3 separate regions of the Homo sapiens genome follow, and regions 2 and 3 are each linked to region 1. The links are contacts of gene promoters, found by promoter capture Hi-C in blood cells and fetal thymus (Javierre and others, 2016). All regions are on one chromosome and are shown on one strand. The core of a region is centred on a gene start or on the middle of the fragment in contact, and the rest is flanking DNA. Distances in the headings are between cores, read along the strand shown. Region 1 holds the start of MTMR11 (myotubularin related protein 11). Region 2 overlaps VPS45 (vacuolar protein sorting 45 homolog). Region 3 overlaps VPS45 (vacuolar protein sorting 45 homolog).

Region 1 (3,784 bases), core at 751-3,250:
CTCACTGCAACCTTCGTCTCCTGGGTTCAAGCGATTCTCCTGCCTCAGGCTCCCGAGTAGCTGGGATTACAGGAGCCTACCACCATGCCTGGCTTAATTTTTTTTTTTTTTTTTTTTTTTAGTTAGAGTCGGGGGTTTCGCCATGTTGGCCAGGCTGGTCTTGAATTCCTAACCTCAGGTGATCCGTGATCCACCCACCTCAGCCTTCCAAAGTGCTGGGATTACAGGCATGAGCCACCACACCCCTACCCCCCGATTTTTTTTCTCCGTGTTCCTCCACTGTCTCCACACCTCAAAGTGCTAAAGAATAGAATGAGGCTCTTGAATGAAGGATGGTGGTGAGAAGGAAAGTGGATAATGGGATTTAAAAGTTATGGTACACACCTCTTCCTATGTCTTTTTTTTTTTTTTTTTTTTTGCGATGGAGTCTTGCTCTGTTGCCCAGGCTGGAGCGTAGTCATTAGATCTTGGCTCACTGCAACCTCTGCTTCCTGGGTTCAAGCGATTCTCCTGCCTCAGCCTCCCAAGTAGCTGGGATTATAGGTGTGAGCCACCACGCCTGGCTAATTTTTGTATTTTCAGTAGAGATGGGGCTTCATCATGTTGGCCAGGTGGTCCTGAACTCCTGACCTCAAGTAATCTGCCTGCCTTGGCCTTCCAAAATGCTTGGGATTACAGGCGTGAGCCACTGCGCCTGGTCCCTATTTTCTTTTTACAACAGACCTTGGGAAATATTTTCTTCCCCCAAGAGGTTGAGGCCCATGGAATGCATTAGGGGCAGGTGGGGTGGTGGTGCTCTGTAGCCTTTAGGACTTCTAGAATCAGGCTTCTGGGCCACCTTCTTAGCAGGTGTATACCTCTTTGTTCCAGACTGACTTTCTGTCTCACAATATCTTCACTATTTCCACAGTTGCAGCCAAGACAGGAAACTGAAAGCTGAGGCCAGAAGGGTGGTGTACTGGGGGGAGGGGAAAATTGAGTGTCACTTTGGAAAACTGGGGCCCCCATCTAAGGATTGCTGCCTCTGTAGATTCAAAAGCAATAAAACAGCAGCTCATTAACTCTTATTTTGTATTTTATTTTCTGTCTTTTTCATGTCTAAATAAAGATTTTTGCTTTGCTGTCCCCAAGTCCCCCTCCTTTAAAGGAGCTGCAGCTCCTTCTCTCCTTGTTCCCAGCTTTCCTTACCCATCTTTGCTTCTAGGGTTGCAGATGGGAGGGACGGGGGATGGACTGCTGAGCTGAAGAGAGGTTTCCAGCCCTCACCTGTGAAAGTCCTGAACATGAATCATTCATTTGGAGATCTGGTGTCTGGGTTGGAGGGGTGGAGTCACATACGGGAATGGGCACTTATTGCCTATTGGTTGTGTATCTACGTGATGGGCAAGATTAACTGGTAAGATCTTTTTGTCCCACCCACATCCCCAAGACTTGCACACAAACTGTACTTGTGTCTGCATCTTGGACACATTTCCATCTCTTTTTATACTTCTCCACTGCAGTCTTCACATGATGTCTGTGTCATGCCCTCTAGAGAAAGATATGCAAAACCACTTTAACCAGTTTCCCTGCTTCCTCACCTAATTCTTGGGCCTCTGCTGACAAAAATCCCCCCAGGTCTAATTTTCATTTTCTTCTGGAAGAGGCGGCAAGGAGGCTTGAACCACTTTCACATTCCTACCCCTCTCCCCGCCCCAAACCCCTTTGAGAAGACAAAAGAACGGAGCTTTTAAGGGAAGTCATCACTGAGACACTCCAGACAGGTAGCCCAGATGATTCCAGCTTCATAATCAATAGAACTGCTCCCCTCAAACGGTCTCCAGTACTCATGAACAGGAAGAGAACAGGGTCTGGGATTGGGGTAAAGAAGGGAGTCGTTTTTCTCTCAGTCCCCATTTCTTCCCCACCCGTCCGTCTCAGACTCCACCGTTTCCTCTCCACTTTTCCAGAATTGTGTGTATTCTCCTTTAAGGGGTTGGGCATCTCTCCCGCCCTCTCCAGAGTCGACTGAAGTTTCCGAGGAGACTTCTCAGGCTGGGCTGGACACACCTTTCCAAGGACCCCCAAACTCTGCTCCGTGCACGTCAAATGCTCCTTTCCCTTGTGTCCAACCCCCTACCCCTCTCCCTAACACCCCTCTTCTCAACAAGACTCAGCCTCTCCCCGAGGTGGGTGAGCATCCTTGAGGTTTCCCACCCTTAACTGCTGTGTCCCCGGATGGAGCCAGAGAAATGTGGTGGGGGGGCCGGGGCCAGAGTTTCAACATTGCCCCCCAGAAGGAGGAGCCAGAGATGGGGGTAAGGAGAAGGAATTTGGGGGGTGTCGGCAAGAGGGTGAGAACGGGGATGAGGTGGAGATAAAAGGGGGAAGCAAAGGCTCTAGAGGAGGAGGAGGAGGGTGTGTCTGTCTATCAGCTTCTGCTGATGGAGCCTGGTCCGTCTTTCTCAGTCTCAAGTTCGTTGTCTCATTATCCATTAACCAGCCCCTCCCTTTACTGTTTACCAGCCCTGTTAGGTCTGGAGCTCCCCACAGACACTGATCTCAGTTTCCCCCGAGAGTGTGAGTGTAGGCCTCTACAGGCAGCTGCCTCTGGGGAGTTGGGGAGCCTAGGGGTTAACTCTAGACCCCCCTCAACCCTCTGGACCAAAGTCTGTCCAGGAAAATAGGATGCCGGAGCCCAGGAGTCGTCAGCCTAGCAGTTGCCTGGCCTCCAGATGCCTCCCAGGTAATAATGCCCTATCACTCTCCAAAGACTTCCAAATTTCATCCTACGCCAATCTTGTTTCATGCCCTCACCAAAGATACCCCTGTGTTCCTCTCGTGGCTCGAAGTACGTCTGCCTGAGGCTCGCTGTCCTCCCTGACAGCCTCTAGAGCTGGCTGAGAGCTGGACCTTGACATTCCTTCTGTTTCCTTGACCCTGTTACCCCTTTTCAAATTTACTTATTCGATACATAGTTAGTGCCTGCTATGTGCCAGGCCTTGTTCTAGGCTCTGTTCTAGTTACAGAAATTAAAAAACATTTATCTTTCCTCATAAGCTTACATTGTAGTGGGCTTTGGGGAGGATTTTAATCTTCCCTATTTAGATCTCCCTTTCTTGGAGGGGTGGGTGTATCCAAGTGTGGGCAACACTGGGAACAGTCATAACAGGGCTTCCCTTCTTCCCCTTTAGGGGAGCAGATCCTAGCATGGGCCCCAGGGGTGAGGAAGGGCCTGGAACCAGAATTGTCTGGAACCCTGATCTGTACCAACTTTAGGGTCACCTTCCAGCCCTGTGGATGGCAGTGGAATCAGGTGAGATGGTTGGGGCCACAGAAATGACAGCTAGTGGGAAATGGGTAGGGGAGTCTAGCAGGATTTAGACAAACATTATGGGTTAAGGGCTGTCTTTTGAATGTATCATTGATAATCAGTGGGAACTCTCTCTAGGGTTGTTGCCCCCTAGAAGGGGTTGGGGCTGCCAGGGTAGGAAAATGAGGGCGATTTCAGATGTCTACCCAGTCACGTGTTTCGTCTAGGACACTCCCTTGAACAGTGAATACGATTTTGCCCTGGTCAACATTGGACGATTAGAGGCTGGTAAGTTGGGGGGGGGTTTGGTGAAGGGGTTCACTGGGGTTGTTGGAACTCCCTCCTCATCCTTCCTCTGTTCTCAGAAAACAGCAGGGATGGAGTGGGATGGGCTGCAAGAGTCCCTTCTGGAGAGACTCTGGTCCATGGTTACACTGTTCTGTACCTCTTGACTTCAGTGAGCGGCTTGTCCCGAGTCCAGCTCCTCCGTCC
Region 2 (3,784 bases), core at 826-3,325, 190 kb before region 1:
TAATCCCAGCACTCAGATCACGAGATCAGGAGATCAAGACCATCCTGGCTAACACGGTGAAACCCCATCTCTACTAAAAATACAAAAATAATTAGCCAGGCGTGGTGGCACGCACTTGTAGTCCTAGCTACTTGGGACTTTGTGGCAGGAGAATCGCTTGAACCCGGGAGGCGGAGGTTGCAGTGAGCCGAGATCGTGCCACTGCACTCCAGCCTGGGCGACAGAGCGAGACTCTGTCTCACTGAAAAAAAAAAAGAAAGAAAATCTCTTTGGGAAAGTTTCAAAACTTATCCTGAAACGTCCGTAGTGAAGAGAAGTCCCCTCTGGGTTCCTGCCTCTTTGAAATGCAAATTCTGTCATAGTATCCTAATTTTTCTGTAAATAATTCAGAGATTGAACCTACTGGTGGTTACAGGAGAAGGTCCAAGTTTCTAGTGTTACTTGTTTAGGTGGAAATCTATAAAGTACCTGTTGATAACACAAATTGAATCAGCCCCCTACCAGCCTCAAACTTATGTATAGAAATTCAAGATGCCAACTATTTTTTAGGCCCTTAGCTGTATTCACTACAAAAAGTATTAATTTCACTTACTCCATGTCAAAGTTAAATTATTATAACACTTAGGCATCATTTCAGATAGTTATGAAACTAAAAGCTTCCACTAATTAATCAAGTTAATTTTCTTTTTTTTTTTAAGACAAGGGTCCCATTCTGTTACCCAGGCTGGAGTGCAGTGGCGCGAACTTGACTCACTGCAACCTCTGCCCCCTGGGCTCAAGCTATCCTCCCATCTTAGCCTCCCGAGTAGCTGGGACCACAGGCACGCACCATCACGCCCAGCTATTTTTTTGTATTTTTGGTAGAGACAGGGTCTCACCATGTTGCCCAGGCTGGTCTTGAACTCCTGAACTCAAGCAATCTGCCCGCCCCGGCCTCCCAAAGTGTGGGATTACAGGTGTGAGTCACCATGCCTGGCCAAGTTAGTCATTTTTACTCAAAGAGCAACACTGTCTCTTAAATCTCATTTTTAATCATCATTGAATGATAAAATTCTTAAAATAAAAGTAAATGATCCCTCAGTTCTGTATTATTTTTTCCCCAGCTTTGGTTTACAATATTTCTTAGTAGTCTGAAAGCTTCACATATTATCCATTTGATAAAAACATATTTTGCCTATCTTATAGGTGACATTTATAAACAAAGGATTTAAAAATATCATAGCTAGATAAATATTCCAAAATATTATTTCAACTGAGTGCTTAGGTACTCATACTGGAAACAGACTGTGCCCAATTCCAGGTTTACCACTTACTAGCTTTATGACTTTGGACAAGGTACTTAACTTCTCTCTACTTTGATTTCCTCATCTGAAAAAGGAAGTTGATAACAATTATAAAAATATCTACCTTGGCTGGGTGTGGTGGCTCATGCCAGTAATCCCAGCAATTTGGGAGGCCAAGTTGGGAGGTTTGTTTGAGCCCAGGAGTTTGAGACCAGTCTGGACAACATAGCAAGACCCTGTCTCTAGAAAAAAATAAAAAGTTAGCACAAGCTACTTGTGAGGCTGAAGTGGTAGGACTGCTTGAACCCAGATCAATGTCACAGTGAGCTGTGTGTGTGCCACTGCACTCCAGCCTGGGCAACAGAGCGAGACCCTGTTTCAAAAAAAAAAAAATCTGCTTCACTGAGTCATTATGAGAATTAACAAAATTAAATGGATAAAGCAGTGCAAGTCACAAATGTTCTCGTGGCCACATTAAAAAAGTAAAATGAAACAGGTAAAATTAATTTTAGTAGTGTATTTTATTTAACCCATATATCCAAAATATTATCTTTCAGCATGTAATCAACTTAAAAAAGTACTGAGATATTTTACATTTTGTTGTACTGTCTTTAAAATTTGGTTAAGTGTTTTACCAAATTATCATCATACCCGTTGCTTTAGGAATTGTAATAGCCCAGTTTTCCTCAAAGTGTGTGAGTCATAACATCAGTTGACATCAGGTGGTTCTGGGGCATGGCATTAAATAACATTGAATTATGCAGTGAGAAACTATTCCATTTTAAATTATCTTTTTTATCTTTCTGAACATTTGAAGGAGAAAATGTCAGTTTGGTACTACAGTGCTTTGTCTTACCTGTAGCTATGATTACAGGTGCGTACCATGATGCCTGGCTAATTTTAACGTTTTTTGTGGAGATGGAGTCTCACTATGTTGCCCAGGCTGTTCTTGAACCCCTGGCCTCAAATGATCCTCCCAATTGAGCCTCCCAAAGTGCTGGGATTACAGGCATGGGCCACCTCTGCTCAGCTACATATAAATTTTTTTTATTGAGCTATAACTCATAGACAATAAAATTCACTGATATCAAGGATATTCTTTGATGAGTTTGCCAAATATATCCAGTTGTATAACCAACTCCTCAATCAAGATATAGAACATTTCCATCACTTGAGCAAGAGCTTCTTAAAAATCAAAAAACAGGCCGGTGTGGTGGCTCACGCCTGTAATCCCAGCACTTTGGGAGGCCGAGGAGGGCGGATCACGAGGTCAGGAGATTGAGACCATCCTGGCTAACATGGTGAAACCCCATTTCTACTAAAAATACAAAAAAAAATTAGCCAGGCATGGTGGCAGATGCCTGTAGTCCCAGCTACTTGGGAGGCTGAGGCAGGACAATGGCGTGAACCTGGGAGGCGGAGCTTGCAGTGAGCCGAGATGGCACCACTGCACTCCAGCATGGGCGACAGAGTGAGGCTCTGTCTCAAAAAAACAAAACAAAACAAAAACCCAACAACAAAAGCCATGAAATTAATCCCATACCTTAGAATATATAATGCTAAATTGCTTTCTAGGAAAGTTATACTAATTTATCCTTCTACTGGCAATATTTCAGACTGCCTCACTATACGTTTATCTTAAACCTTTGTCCCCACCGAGATGGGGACCAAGTTTTATCAGTACGTAAGATGTTTATTGAAGCATTATTTATATTAAAAATGTAAGCTTGGCCAGGGGCAGTGGCTCATATCTATAATCCCACCACTTTGGGAGTCTGAGACGGGTGGATCACAAGGTCAGGAGTTCAAGACCAGTCTGGCCAAGATGGTGAAAGCCCGTCTCTACTAAAAATACAAAAATTAGCTGGGAGTGGTGGCAGGCGCCTATAATCCCAGCTACTCGGGAGGCTGAGGCAGAGAATTCCTTGAACCTGGGTGGTGGAGGTTACAGTGAGCTGAGATCACATCACTGCACTCTAGCCTGGGCAACAGAGGAGACTCCATCTCAAAAATGATTAAAAAATATAAAAAAAATAAAAAATATATCTCCTAATGCTATCCCTCCCCCCTCCCCCCAGTGTGTGATGTTCCCCTTCCTGTGTCCAAGTGTTCTCATTGTTCAATTCCCACCTATGAGTGAGAACATGTGGTGTTTGGTTTTTTGTCCTTGCGATAGTTTGCTCAGAATGATGGTTTCCAGTTTCATCCATGTCCCTACAAAGGACATGAACTCGTCATTTTTTAAATGATGAGTTAATGGGTGCAGCACACCAACATGGCACATGTATACATATGTAACAAACCTGCACATTGTGCACATGTACCCTAGAACTTAAAGTATAATAAAAATATATATATATTAAAAAATAAATAAAAAAAGTAAAAAAAATAAAAAATACATATCCAATACAGAAAAAAGAAGATTTTGAATGTTCCCAATACAAAGAAATGATAAATGTTTGATGTGCTGTTATGCTAAATATCCTGATTTGATCAGTATA
Region 3 (3,784 bases), core at 768-3,267, 160 kb before region 1:
TGAAAAGTACTTCCTTTTTGAATTGACTGATTCTGGAATGCATGATCATATAGCTCCATTTCCTCACCAAATGAAAAAGTTGCTTGCCTTTATCAGAGACAAGAGGCAATTCTAGAGTGAGAAAAAAAAATTAGCTTGAAAAATAGGGTATGCAAGAATCCCATCTGCAGAATGATCAAATCCAATTTGTGGATATAGCTATACTGCCAAACAGCTTAAACACTAATTTAACAGCTAAGGGCTAAAAAAATTTCCACCAGTGTTCTGGTTTTGCAAAGTTGTGTTCTTGCCACATTTCCTTTGATATTTTCTATTATTATAGCAACAATAAAACCTAGAATTTCTATTATGATGAGACAAATAATAATAAATACCACTATAATCAAGGACTCTTTTCAATATGATAATACAGGGCCAAGAAAGTGGCTAGAGCTGATAGTGTGGCCAAGTGAATACAGAGCCAGAATGTTTTAAAGGGTTGTTTATGAACTTCAAAAATCTAAATTTTGTATAGCATCAATTAAGTTTATTCTCTGGTTTAAATTTTCCAACTATAAATATTGGCATATCAACTAGAAGAGATGCCTATAGAATTTACCAAACATCTATTGAACACCTATTATTTGTAAATCACTGTGTTAAACATTGTGAAAACCCCAAAGATTAACAAAACATAATACTTACTTCAAGATTACAATACCTAATACAATAACTAATAGGAAGGATAGATATGTAACTAACTACTGTCTCAATATCCAGAGGTAACGACTATTAACAACTTCTTGATTATTCTTTCAGAAATAATTACTGTAGGCAGGGCATGGTGGCTCATGCCAGTAATCCAAGCACTTTGGGAGGCTGAGGCAGGCAGATTGCTTGAGCTCAGGAGTTTGAGACAAGCCTAGGCAACATAGCAAAACCTTGTCTCTATAAAAATGCAAAAATTAGCTAGGTACTGTGGCATGTGCCTGTAGCCCCAGCTACTTAGGAGAATGAGGTGGGATGGCTTAAGCCCAAAAGGTGGAGGCTGCAGTGAGCTGAAATCACGCCACCACTCTCCAGTCTGGGCTACAGAGCCAGACCCTGTCTCAAAAAAACAAACAAACAAACAAAAAGAGTTACTGTATTTATACATATATGTGCTTGTGAAAATATATTATATATATAATATACATACATATGTATAGTCAAGCACATATTTATATACATGTACACTTTTTTTGTTTTGTTTTGTTTTGTTTTGAGACGGAGCCTTGCTCTATCACCCAGGCTGGTGTGTAATGGCATAATCTCGGCTCACTGCAACCTCCACCTCCCTGGTTCAAGCGATTCTCCTGACTCAGCCTCCTGAGTAGCTGGGACTACAGGTGCATGCCACCACGCCTGGCTAATTTTTGCATTTTTAGTAGAGACAGGGTTTCACCATGTTGGCCAGGCTGGTCTCAAACTCCTGACCTCAAAGAATCTGCCCGCTCGGCCTCCCAAAGTGCTGGGATTATAGGCATAAACCACTGCACCCAGGATTATACAGTTTTTTTACCTGAAAGAAATGTTATGGCTGGGCACAGTGGCTCATGCCTGCAATCCCAGCACTTTGGGAGGCCGAGGCGGGCGGATCACGAGGTGAGGCGGGCGGATCACGAGGTCAGGAGTTCGAGACCAGCCTGACCAACATGGTGAGACCCCATCTCTACTAAAAATACAAAAATTAGCCAGGCATGGTGGCATGCACCTGTAATCCCAGCTACTCAGGAGGCTGAGGCAGGAGAATCTTGAACCCAGGAGGCGGGGATTGCAGTGAGCCGAGATGGCACCACTGCACTCCAGCCTGGGTGACAGAGCAAGACTCTGTCTCAAAAAAAAAAAAAAAGAAAGAAATGTTACAACATCCTGCTTTTCTATCTAATATATCTTAAAAAGCTTTGCATATCACCCGTGAGGAGTTATGTCATTTAAAAAAAAAAGAATACGTAATATTGTACTGTAGTTTAGGTAACCAGCCCTCTATTAATAGATATTTAGCTTGTTCCTAGTTTTTTTGCTATTACTTCAGTGAACATCCTGGCTTAAGTATCTTTGTGTACTTGCACAGGAATATCTATACAGTAAGCTTTTAGAAGTAGAATTGGTAAATAAGAGTATTTTCAAGTCCTTTGCAGTATTCCTTCTGTTAGGCATGGCCAGGAGGTGGTATAGGTATGTTCTGTGACACCCACTGTAGTTTTGTAACCATTTCTTTGCCTTCTTCCTTCAAAATTTCCACTATCTTAGAAGCTCATAATGTAGCTGCACCGTTTTCTCCTGACCTCCTTTCCTGGTCACTTTTATTCCATGAAGACTTTAGCTCTGGCTTATTTGTCCTCCTTTTTCTCCTTCTCTTTTCAAGATTGTCAGTGACTTTAACATCACTGTGGATTACTCATCTAACATCCTGGTCTCCTTACCAATCCTGATCTTTTCTTTTACCCACTACAACCACCCACATCCATGCTTACAATCTAAACTTCTTCGTTACAAGTATCTGAACCCCCTATGAAATCTTGAATTCAAAATATCTTTATCCAATAACTACCTCTCAACTTCCAATTTACCTGTACTAATACTCTTCTGTAATAATTCTTTGGCCTCATCAAATCTCCAATTCATTCACCAATACCTTTGTCATGATCCAATACACTCTCCTCTTGTTTCCATTTCCCCAACTAGTTGCCTTTTCCATGTTTAATCTGGAGCAGTTCAACATTTCCAGAGGTTTTAATATTACTAATGTTTTTGTCAACTCTCAATATGTGACATTTCTACTTGTTATCTAATAGACATCTCCAACTGAACAACAAAACTCTGTTTCTCCTCAAAGCCTGAGAGTTATTCTTGACTTCTCTCTTACCCTTGTTCCATAAATCTGTGCCATTAAATATGACTATTGATTCTGGCTTCTCTCTCAGCCTCCTACCCAAACCACTTCCATTTCTCACCTGGACTACTGCATTCATCTCCTCAGTAGTCTCTCTGCTTCTATTTTTGCCTTCAATAATCCATTCTTACCACAAATATCTTTTAAAACACAATTAAGTTCATGTTACTCATATGCTTAACTCTTCAATGGCTTCCTATGACATTAAAAAAAAATCTCTTTACTAGGGTCTTCGAGAACCGATGTGATCCAACCCTACCTATCTTTCAACCTCTTATTTCCTCCTTATTCACTATGCTCCAGCCAAGCAGGGCTCCCTTCTGTTCCATTAACTTGCCAAATTCTCTCTTTCTTCAAGACCTTTGCTCTGGTGTTTCCCTCTGCTTTGGATGCTTTCTCTCCTAATCATAGTGTGATTGCTTTTTTTTTTTTGAGATGGGGTCTCACTCTGTTGCCCAGGCTCGAGTGCAACGGTGCAAATTTCAGCTCACTGCAACCTCCGCCTCCCAGGTTCAAGCGATTCTTCTACCTCAGCCTCCTGAGTAGCTGGGATTACAGGCGCCTGCTACCCACGCCAGGCTAATTTTTGTAGTTTTAGTAGAGACAGGGTTTTGCCATGTTGGCCAGCCTGGTTCAAACTACTGACCTCAGGTGATCCTCCCGCTTTGGCCGCCCAAAGTGTTGGGATTACAGGCGTGAGCCACCGTGTCTGGTCTGGTTCTTTCTTATGACTCAAAGCTCATCTTAAATATCACCTCTCAGAGAGGTTCTCTCTCCATCTAAAGTAGTCCTCCCCACCCCTACAATTACTTTGAAGCTCATCACCCTATTTATTTCCTGGATAGCACTTATTAAAATTATATTCTTCAT

What was found. Contacts are between HindIII fragments. The CHiCAGO score rates a contact against its expected background, and 5 or more counts as called.
Region 2: a contact is called between a fragment that was not itself captured here and the fragment with the promoter of MTMR11 in region 1, in 10 of 17 cell types (total B cells, fetal thymus, naive B cells and 7 more). The highest score is 7.5, in total B cells.
Region 3: a contact is called between a fragment that was not itself captured here and the fragment with the promoter of MTMR11 in region 1, in 2 of 17 cell types (erythroblasts and monocytes). The highest score is 8.7, in erythroblasts.

Annotation. Positions count from the first base shown.
Region 1 is chr1:149,935,095-149,938,878 of GRCh38, reverse strand. MTMR11 (myotubularin related protein 11) reads left to right here and starts at 2,000. Exons shown (of 17, transcript NM_001145862.2): 1 at 2,000-2,297; 2 at 2,650-2,725; 3 at 3,174-3,295; 4 at 3,520-3,580; 5 at 3,751-3,784. The coding sequence starts at 2,232. OTUD7B (OTU deubiquitinase 7B) reads left to right here. Exons shown (of 12, transcript NM_020205.4): 12 at 1-1,067. RefSeq lists an enhancer at 2,210-2,734. The HindIII fragment of the contact is 11,640 bases long and covers 1-3,041 here.
Region 2 is chr1:150,125,214-150,128,997 of GRCh38, reverse strand. The region is part of intron 14 of VPS45 (vacuolar protein sorting 45 homolog); the gene reads right to left. Among named protein-coding and RNA genes, the nearest start is that of PLEKHO1, 23 kb to the left of the region's middle. The HindIII fragment of the contact is 1,872 bases long and covers 1,140-3,011 here.
Region 3 is chr1:150,095,177-150,098,960 of GRCh38, reverse strand. The region is part of intron 13 of VPS45 (vacuolar protein sorting 45 homolog); the gene reads right to left. Among named protein-coding and RNA genes, the nearest start is that of VPS45, 29 kb to the right of the region's middle. The HindIII fragment of the contact is 190 bases long and covers 1,923-2,112 here.